2 separate regions of the Homo sapiens genome follow, and region 1 is linked to region 2. Evidence: promoter capture Hi-C in 16 types of primary human blood cells and fetal thymus (Javierre and others, 2016). All regions are on one chromosome and are shown on one strand. Each heading gives the region's core, a stretch centred on a gene start or on the middle of the fragment in contact. The rest is flanking DNA. Distances are from core to core; before and after follow the strand shown.

Region 1 (3,654 bases), core at 697-3,196, 2.1 Mb before region 2:
CCCGCGACCTTGGCGTTATTAGCACCACGCTCTAACCAACTGAGCTAACCGGCCGCCTGACGTTGGGCCCCCACGGGAGCGCCTAAGAGGGCTCCAAGCCCGCGCCCGCCCCCTAGCGACTCCCTGCCGGGCCGGCGCCGCTGGCTGCATTCCGCTTCGCCACAGCCGCGACTTCCGACCTCTTCACAGTCATCCCCATTGGCCCGATGCAGAAACTAAGACTTAGGGGACTTCAAGGAGAAGGGAGGCGACTCCCTACAGCGAAGGCGGCTTTTTTTCACAGGAAAAATGCAAATTGCACATGGGAGGCTTAGCTCCGCAGTGAGAAGGTTTTCAAACATGCCAACTCAGTGTTGTTTTTATCTCCGAGAATCCTGCAGCGTGGAAACTTCGTGTAACAGAGGCCTTTAGCATGGTTAAATCAAGCTTGGAAAATACAGAAAACCGGACAAAAGAACCACCGAATTCCCTATCGCCCAATAAACAAGGGCCGCTGGGGTCTTGGCTTCCTTCCTGCTGGTTTTTTTTCCTACAGTACACGTGTATTTATACACACACACACACACACACACACACACGGAATCCAAAGCCTTGTATGAAGCAGTCTTTTTTTTGAGACGGAATCTCCCTCTGTCGCCCAGGCTGGAGTGCAGTGGCGAGATTTCGGCTCAATGAAGCAGTCTATTTTTTATCTTTCTTTTTGCATTTAATATTCTAGAATAAGCATATCCCTAAACAATTGCAAATGTCACTTTAAATGATTTCTCAGTGTTTCATTGAGTGGACAAACCACCATGGCTTTCTCCTTTTTTTTTTTTTTTTTTTTTTAGTGTCTGTAAAAATGTTTTCATTTTGCTCTCTCTCTTGTTAACTGAGCACATAAATAAATCACATGGTACAGGCAGAAGGGTTGAAACAGCCACTGAGTAGGCAACGATGGTACCCACCCCTAAAAGCGTAGGATCTGTATGCAAAAAAAGAGAGAGAGAAAGAAAAGGCTGGGAAGACAAACCACCACCGTGTCCACCACCCAGCCTGCATGTCCCAGAGGCCTACTGTTCTCCTACAGGGCCTGACTATGGTGTGCTGCGTGGCCCTCCCACTCCAGGAGCACCAGCTTTTTTTTTTTTGAGACAGAGTCTCGCTCTGTCACCCAGGCTGGAGTCCAGTGGTGCAATCTCAGCTCACTGCAACCTCTGCTTCCTGGGTTCAAGCGATTCTCCTGCCTCAGCCTCCCAAGTAGCTGGGACTACAGGCACGCGCCTTGTCCGGTTACTTTGTGTGTGTGTGTGTGTGTGTGTGTGTGTGTGTGTGTGTGTGTGTGTATTTTTAGTAGAGATGGGGTTTCACCATGTTGGCCAGGCTGGTCTCGAGCTCCTGACCTCAAGTGATCCGCCTGCCTCGGCCTCCCAGAGTGCTAGGATTACAGGCGTGAGCCACCGCATCGGGCCAGCTTTTTAACATTATACATTCTGCTCTGATTACTCCACTAAACTGCTTGGACTGAGGTATCGTCAGGGTTCTATGTCACAAGCAGCAGAAACCGAGTCTAGCTGATTCGAAAAGATTTTATGTAAAGGATGTTAGGTAGGTCACCCTCCACGAGTAAGGCTAGAGGACCAGGTTTAGAAAAACGGACACTCAGTGAAGACATACTCATTCAGCCCGGCAGTGCCCTGGCCCCCAATCAGCTGTGAGTCAAAGAAACCTAATCCCCATCCTGATGGAGCTCTCCGCATAACAAGGAAGGCGGATATTATAGGGAACGGAGAAGATTAGGTGGTGTGCTGGGAGGCTGGGCAAGCGTCCTGAAGTCTGGAGCACTTTACTGTGTCCAAAGGACAAGGATAGATGAGCAGGCCAAAGGGGTAAAGCCCTCTCACAGAGCACTGGTGGGGGTGCAGGCATCCTGTCCATTTTGCTTACAGCTGAATGAATGCCCAGAACCTAGCACACTCTCTGGCATAGCAATAGGTAAGAGTCACATGGGTTTAAAACAGTCAGATCAAGTCATTTCTCTGCTCACACTCTCTCCTTTTGTTGCAGCCCTAACAGGCCTGCCAAATTTAGCAAATATAGATCAAGATGCCGGGTTAAAATTGAATTGCAAAAGGACAATGAAACTTTTTTTAGTGTAAGTATGTCCCACGCCATATTTGGGACATACTTATACTAAAAGAATACATGTGCTGTATCTGACAACCCTACGCCCAGGGTAACATCCCGTTGAAAGACACCACCGGACCTGCGCCTTTCCCCTCTGCCCTCCTGCACCCCTGCCCGGCTCCCTCCGCGGCAGCCCCTCCGCCTCCTCCCTGGCCCTTGCTCCTGTGCTGGGGCTTTTGCGCTTCTGTTCCTCTTCCTGGACCACTTTTCCTGCAGACAATGTCAAAGCTCCTCCTCCTCGTCGTGGTCGCTGCTTAAATGTCACTTACTCAGCGAGGTTTACCCGATGCCCCCATTTGCAATCGCAACCCGCACCCAGGATCCCTGCGGTTCCCGGCCCGACCCCCCTCCATCGCTTATTCCCGCTGCTAATCGTCGGCCTCCCACCGCTAGAGCGAACTCCAGGAGCAGTGGGCTCTATTTTACCAGCACCTAAACAGTGCTTGGCACACAGCGGGTGGTCAGTCCAGGTCTCCTGAAGGAAGCCGAGTTGATCGACCCTTGTGGGTGCAACCGTGGCATTCCCGGGACTTCAAGCCACGCGTCCCGAGTGGGCAGAGTGGACGGGGCGCGCCGGGGCCGGGGCGCCGTGACTGACGTCAGCCGCTAGAGGGCACCTGGGACCTGCGCCATCAGCTCCGAACCCAGGCTTAGGGCGACCCACGTGCAGCTGCAGGGCGGGCGCGGGCGAGCAGTTTTCTTTCCTCCTCTGGACCTCTTCCTCCACTTCTCACCCCGTCTTAGAGCTCTTAGACAAACAAACGCTAATTTTCATTCTCTGAGTGACGAAAACACGAATCTACATACTTTCAGAATTAAGTGGTAGAGAATACCATTCGGGCTTGTTTTCTTGCTTTTGTTTTTGTTTTTGAGACGGAGTCTCGCTCTTGTCGCCCAGACTGGAGCGCAGTGGCGCGATTTCGGCTCACTGCAACCTCCGCCTTGTATTTGTTTTTTGTTTTTTTAATGTGGGGCGGGGGGCCCATGTGCATTTTAAATAATCCATTTTCTTTAAACTCAACTTACGAAATGTTTCATTCTGTTTATAAGTTGGAACCTTTGGTCTGACAGTAACGACCCGCTGTGTTAGTTTCCCAGGTCGGCCACAGCAGAGTATTATAAGGTAGGTGGCCACACAACAGAATATATGGCCTCACAGTTCTAGTAGGCAGACGTCCAAAGTCAGGGTGTCGGGAAGGTCGCTTCCTTCGGAGGCTCCCACGGAGACCGCCCCAGGCTGTCTCCTGGCTTCTGGTGGATTTCGGGCCAACTTTGGCCTTCCTTCGCTTGTAGAAGCTTCACTCTGATCTCTGCCTGCATCTTCACATACTGTTCTCCCTGTGTGTCCCTATGTCCAAATCGCCCCTTTTGTGTAGACGCCAGTCATAATGGACTAAAGTCACTCTGAAGACCTTTTTTTTTTTTTTTTTTTTTTTTTTTAAGACGGAGTTTCCCTCTTGTTGCCCAGGCTGGAGCGCAATGGCGCGA
Region 2 (3,830 bases), core at 707-3,206:
GCATTGAATTAATAATTGCCTTTGAAGTAAAAACAGATTTTACACAGGCAGATAAGATCCTTTTGCTCTAGATGGTTTTCAGGCCTTCGTTAAAAGTAGTATTAAAACAGTAAAACAAAACTCAAAAAAACCCGCTTTCTATTATCGTTCTTTTCATGGGGAAAATAGATACCTTTCTACAAAGTAAAAACCATAAAGGCTTAAAATTAAACTACCCGATTTTATTTACTGGCAAATGTCCACAGTTGAGTAAACTAACCCAACCTATTCAGAAGAGCTAAATACTTGAGGGAAAAAAAAAAAGCTTTCCCAAAACGTAAGTGACTAAGAATTATTCGCTAACATTCACAGGCCCTTTCCACTAGGTACCGCAGGAAGGCGAAAAGGCCAGGAATTCGCTGGCAACGGCGGTGACAGGCTCCGACTGACGCTCGGAGCCCGCACACGCGAGCCCTACGTGCAGCCCCAAGTCCCGCCCCGCAGCAAACGACGACTTGGGCGAGCGTGACCGCCGGGGCAGGGTCCAGCCCGGCGCTGGGTGGGCGGGGAGCAAGGAGGCCGGAGGGCGCCCACGAGTGCCAAGCCCCCTCCTTCTGGAAGGTGCCACCGGGGAGCAGTTGGGAGTCCGGGGAAGTTGGGGGCGGGCGGGGCAAGCGCCCGCGGCGCCCTCCAGCGGCCGATGGGGTAACGGCAGCGCCGGGCGGGGGCGGGGGCGCGCGTCCCGGAGGCAGCAATCCCTGGCCCGCGAGGCCGCGGCGCAGCCCCGCCAACGACCTCCCGCGTCCCGCCCGGGCCGGGGGCGCGCAGCTGCCGCCACAACGGGCCGGCGGGCGCGCCCGTTGATGCGGGCGCGGGGAGCGAGGGCGTCGGGGAGCGAGCGCGCCGGCCCCTCCCCCGGCCGTCTCCGCCCCGCGCGGCGCTTCCCCCTCTCGGAGAAACTACGCCATTGCGGCCTAGCCGGGCGGCGCCGGCCCCTCCCCCCCGCGGCCTGCCGCCATCTTCGCGGCCCGCCGCCCGCCGCCGCCGCCGCGCCCCCGCCGCCGCACGGCCCGCCATCTTTTGGGGCCGCCATACTTGCCCTGGCGAAGAAGATGGCGGCGCCCATCACACACATAAAACATGGCTTCCCTTCAAAACAAAAACATCCCGGGGCCGGGGCGCGCGGCCGGCGCTCACCTGAGGACCACATGGTGACCGAGAACTCGCCCTCCAGGGTCTTGATCTGCACCTGCTTCTGCTCCCACTTCTTGTTGCCCGGGTCGGCGCCGCCGCCGCCCGCCGCGCCGGCCCCGCCGCTGAGGTAACTCTTCTTGCCGCTCTTCTTGCCGCCGCCCTTCTTGACGCGGCCGCCTCCCGACGACGACGAGCCGCCGCCGCCGCTCTTGCCGGCCGCCGCCACGGTGACCAGCGTTTGTTCAATGTAGTCGTCGTCGCCGCCGGCCGGCGCGGGCACCGGGATGAGAATCTGATCCTCGAAGCCGTCCTCGGCGCGCAGCCCGTCCGAGTCGTCGCCGCCCACCACCTCCTCGCGCGTCTGCACCAGGATCACCTCCTGGTGGTGGTGCACCTGGGTCGGGTCGTCGGTGACCAGCGGCTGCAGAGCGATCATGGGCGGGTGGTGGTGGTGGTGATGGTGGTGGTGGTGGTGGCCGGCGTGCCCGTGGCCGCCCCCGCCGCCGTGGTCGCCACCGCCGCCGTCCTCGTCGTCGTCGTCCTCCTCCTCCTCCTCGCCCACCACTGTGGTCTCGATGGTCTCCACCGGGATGGTCTCCACCTCGATCTCGTGCAGCTCCACGATCTCGGCCGGCATCTCCGAGCCGTCCGTGGCGATGTAGAGGGTGTCGCCCGAGGCCATGGCTGAGGGCTCCGCCGCCACGGCCGCGGCGGCCTCGGCTCCTCGGCTGCGGGCGGGCGGGCGAGGAGGCGGCCGGCCGTGGGGAAGGAAGGCAGAGGGAGGAAGGCGGCGAGCGGGCGGGGGGAGAGGGGGCGGGCGGCGGGGGAAGGGGCGGGCGCCGCGGCGGCGGCGGGGCTTCCCCGCCTCCCTCGCCTCGGTGCGCCCGCGCCCGCGCTCGCTCGGCCGCTGCTCGTCTCGGCTCCCCGCCTCGCCTCGCCTCGCCGCAACCGCCCGCCCTGGCCGCGCCTCCTCCCGCCCTCCGGGCCGGCGCTCCGCTTCCCCCTTCCTCCTGCGCCTCCGCCTCCTTCCACACAAATACCAACTCCTCAACCCGAGCCCAGATCTCGCCGCCGCCGCCACACTCTGCTCGGGCCCGGCCTCGCGAGACTTCCGCGCTGGCCTCAGCCCGCCCCGCCTCGCTGCCACTCGCCCGTTCGCCCTCTCGATTCTCCTCTCGGCCAATCGATCTGTCCGCTGGCCTCCGCGGCCCCGCCCACTCGCCGGGCTCCTCCCGGATTGGGGCCGATGGGACCGGGGGCGGGGCGGCTCGCACGCGCCCTGGCTGGCCCGCGGCGCGTGACGTCAGCGCGCCGCCGCCGCCGCCACCGCCTCCCGCTTCCCGGTGTCGCGCGGCTGCCGCCCTTCGCGGTGCAACAGCCACAAAACCCGCCGCCTCGGGCCGGGGCCGCACTCGGGAACGGGGCGTCGCCGCTACAGCCGCTGCCTTGGGAGCCGGTGAGCGGTCCGCGCGGCCCCGGGCACCACGGGGGCGGGAGCCTGAGGAGAAGGGAGGGAGGGGCCGGCCGGGAGCGGGGTTGAGGCGGGTGGGCGGCCCGGGGGCCGCGCGGGGAGCGGCTGGCGCGTGCGGGGCGGCCCTGTCGCCCCAATAAAGTCTGCTTTGACGAGAATCGCCTGTGCTTCCTTTTTCGCGTCGGGAGGTGTTTGTTCTTGTCGCCTGGCTTCGGGCGAGCGATGGCCGCGGGGTGAGTGTGGAGGACCGAACGGACAAAATCGGGCGACGCGGGCAGCGTCCGGTATCTCGCCGCGAGCGCCCGGCGGGGTGCGGGGCCGAGCGCGGGGTCGGCGCGAGCTCGGCGGAAGCGCCCGCGGAGCCCCAGGGCCACCGTTGGGAGGATGTCCGTTATTCTTTAGTGACCCGCGGAAACCTGAGACGCAGCCGTTGGGTGCCTGTTTCCCCGTAGATCTTAGAACTACAGGGTCCTGGCGGCTTTCTAAAATTTTCTCCTGAGCTTCCCCTTCTTTGCTCTCCAGTCAGCCATTGTTTCCCTTGCCCACCCTTTCCCCCTATTTGTCACTTTCATAGGTGCTCCTTTTTACGCCCACCAGGTTTTGCATTTGTCTCATTTAAAATTCCAAATTTTTTCAGCCGTGTCCTCCATTGTACCTGCAACAGAGCCTAGATTTTTTTTTGTGGCACGGATTAGCGGCAAGTTAAACCTTCCTGAATGAGTTACATTGCAGCGAAGTGTTTCTGCTCTTATCTGTCCTTTTGGTCGACCTGACAATTTGCCTTAAAGCAAAACAAAGATTTCCTGATTTTTAAGGAAACTATGACAAATTGAAGAGTTGGAAAGGTGTGTCTTTGTTGTACTCGTTTGGCCGATTTAACGCCTCTGTGAATTTGTTCAACTTAAATATTATCAACATTTACTGTTTTGTAATAGTGTTCATGCAGTTGAGGCCCATGATTTTCTGAACTGTACGCAATACATTAATCTTAGGCTCAACTTGTTAAAACAAGTAGACTATACATTCTCATTAAAAGGCAACTTTATAAATCCTAGTCCCTTCTTATTGCTAAATCGCATTGGACTTGACTTTTGAGAATATTAGTGTAAGGAGTGACAAATTAGATCGTTTTCTCTTTGAATCTGAGCTTTGAAACCTGAATAATTCCCCTTGGAGTACTGCACCC

Evidence for each region. The method cuts DNA at HindIII sites, captures the fragments that hold promoters and counts their contacts. A CHiCAGO score of 5 or more calls a contact.
Region 1: a fragment that was not itself captured here is called in contact with the fragment with the promoter of YY1 in region 2 in 1 of 17 cell types (total B cells); the score reaches 6.0 in total B cells.

Annotation. Positions count from the first base shown.
Region 1 is chr14:102,313,492-102,317,145 of GRCh38, reverse strand. TRI-AAT5-4 (tRNA-Ile (anticodon AAT) 5-4) reads right to left here and starts at 54; the gene lies at 1-54. RefSeq lists enhancers at 265-364, 2,490-2,569, 2,463-2,963. The HindIII fragment of the contact is 3,036 bases long and covers 429-3,464 here.
Region 2 is chr14:100,237,270-100,241,099 of GRCh38, reverse strand. YY1 (YY1 transcription factor) reads right to left here and starts at 1,956. Exons shown (of 5, transcript NM_003403.5): 1 at 1,177-1,956. The coding sequence starts at 1,855. It overlaps YY1-DT (YY1 divergent transcript), which reads left to right and starts at 2,479. Exons shown (of 2, transcript NR_189150.1): 1 at 2,479-2,629. RefSeq lists silencers at 355-1,034, 1,305-1,354, 1,845-1,914, 2,065-2,144, 2,205-2,804 and enhancers at 1,045-1,204, 2,042-2,894. The HindIII fragment of the contact is 3,842 bases long and covers 307-3,830 here.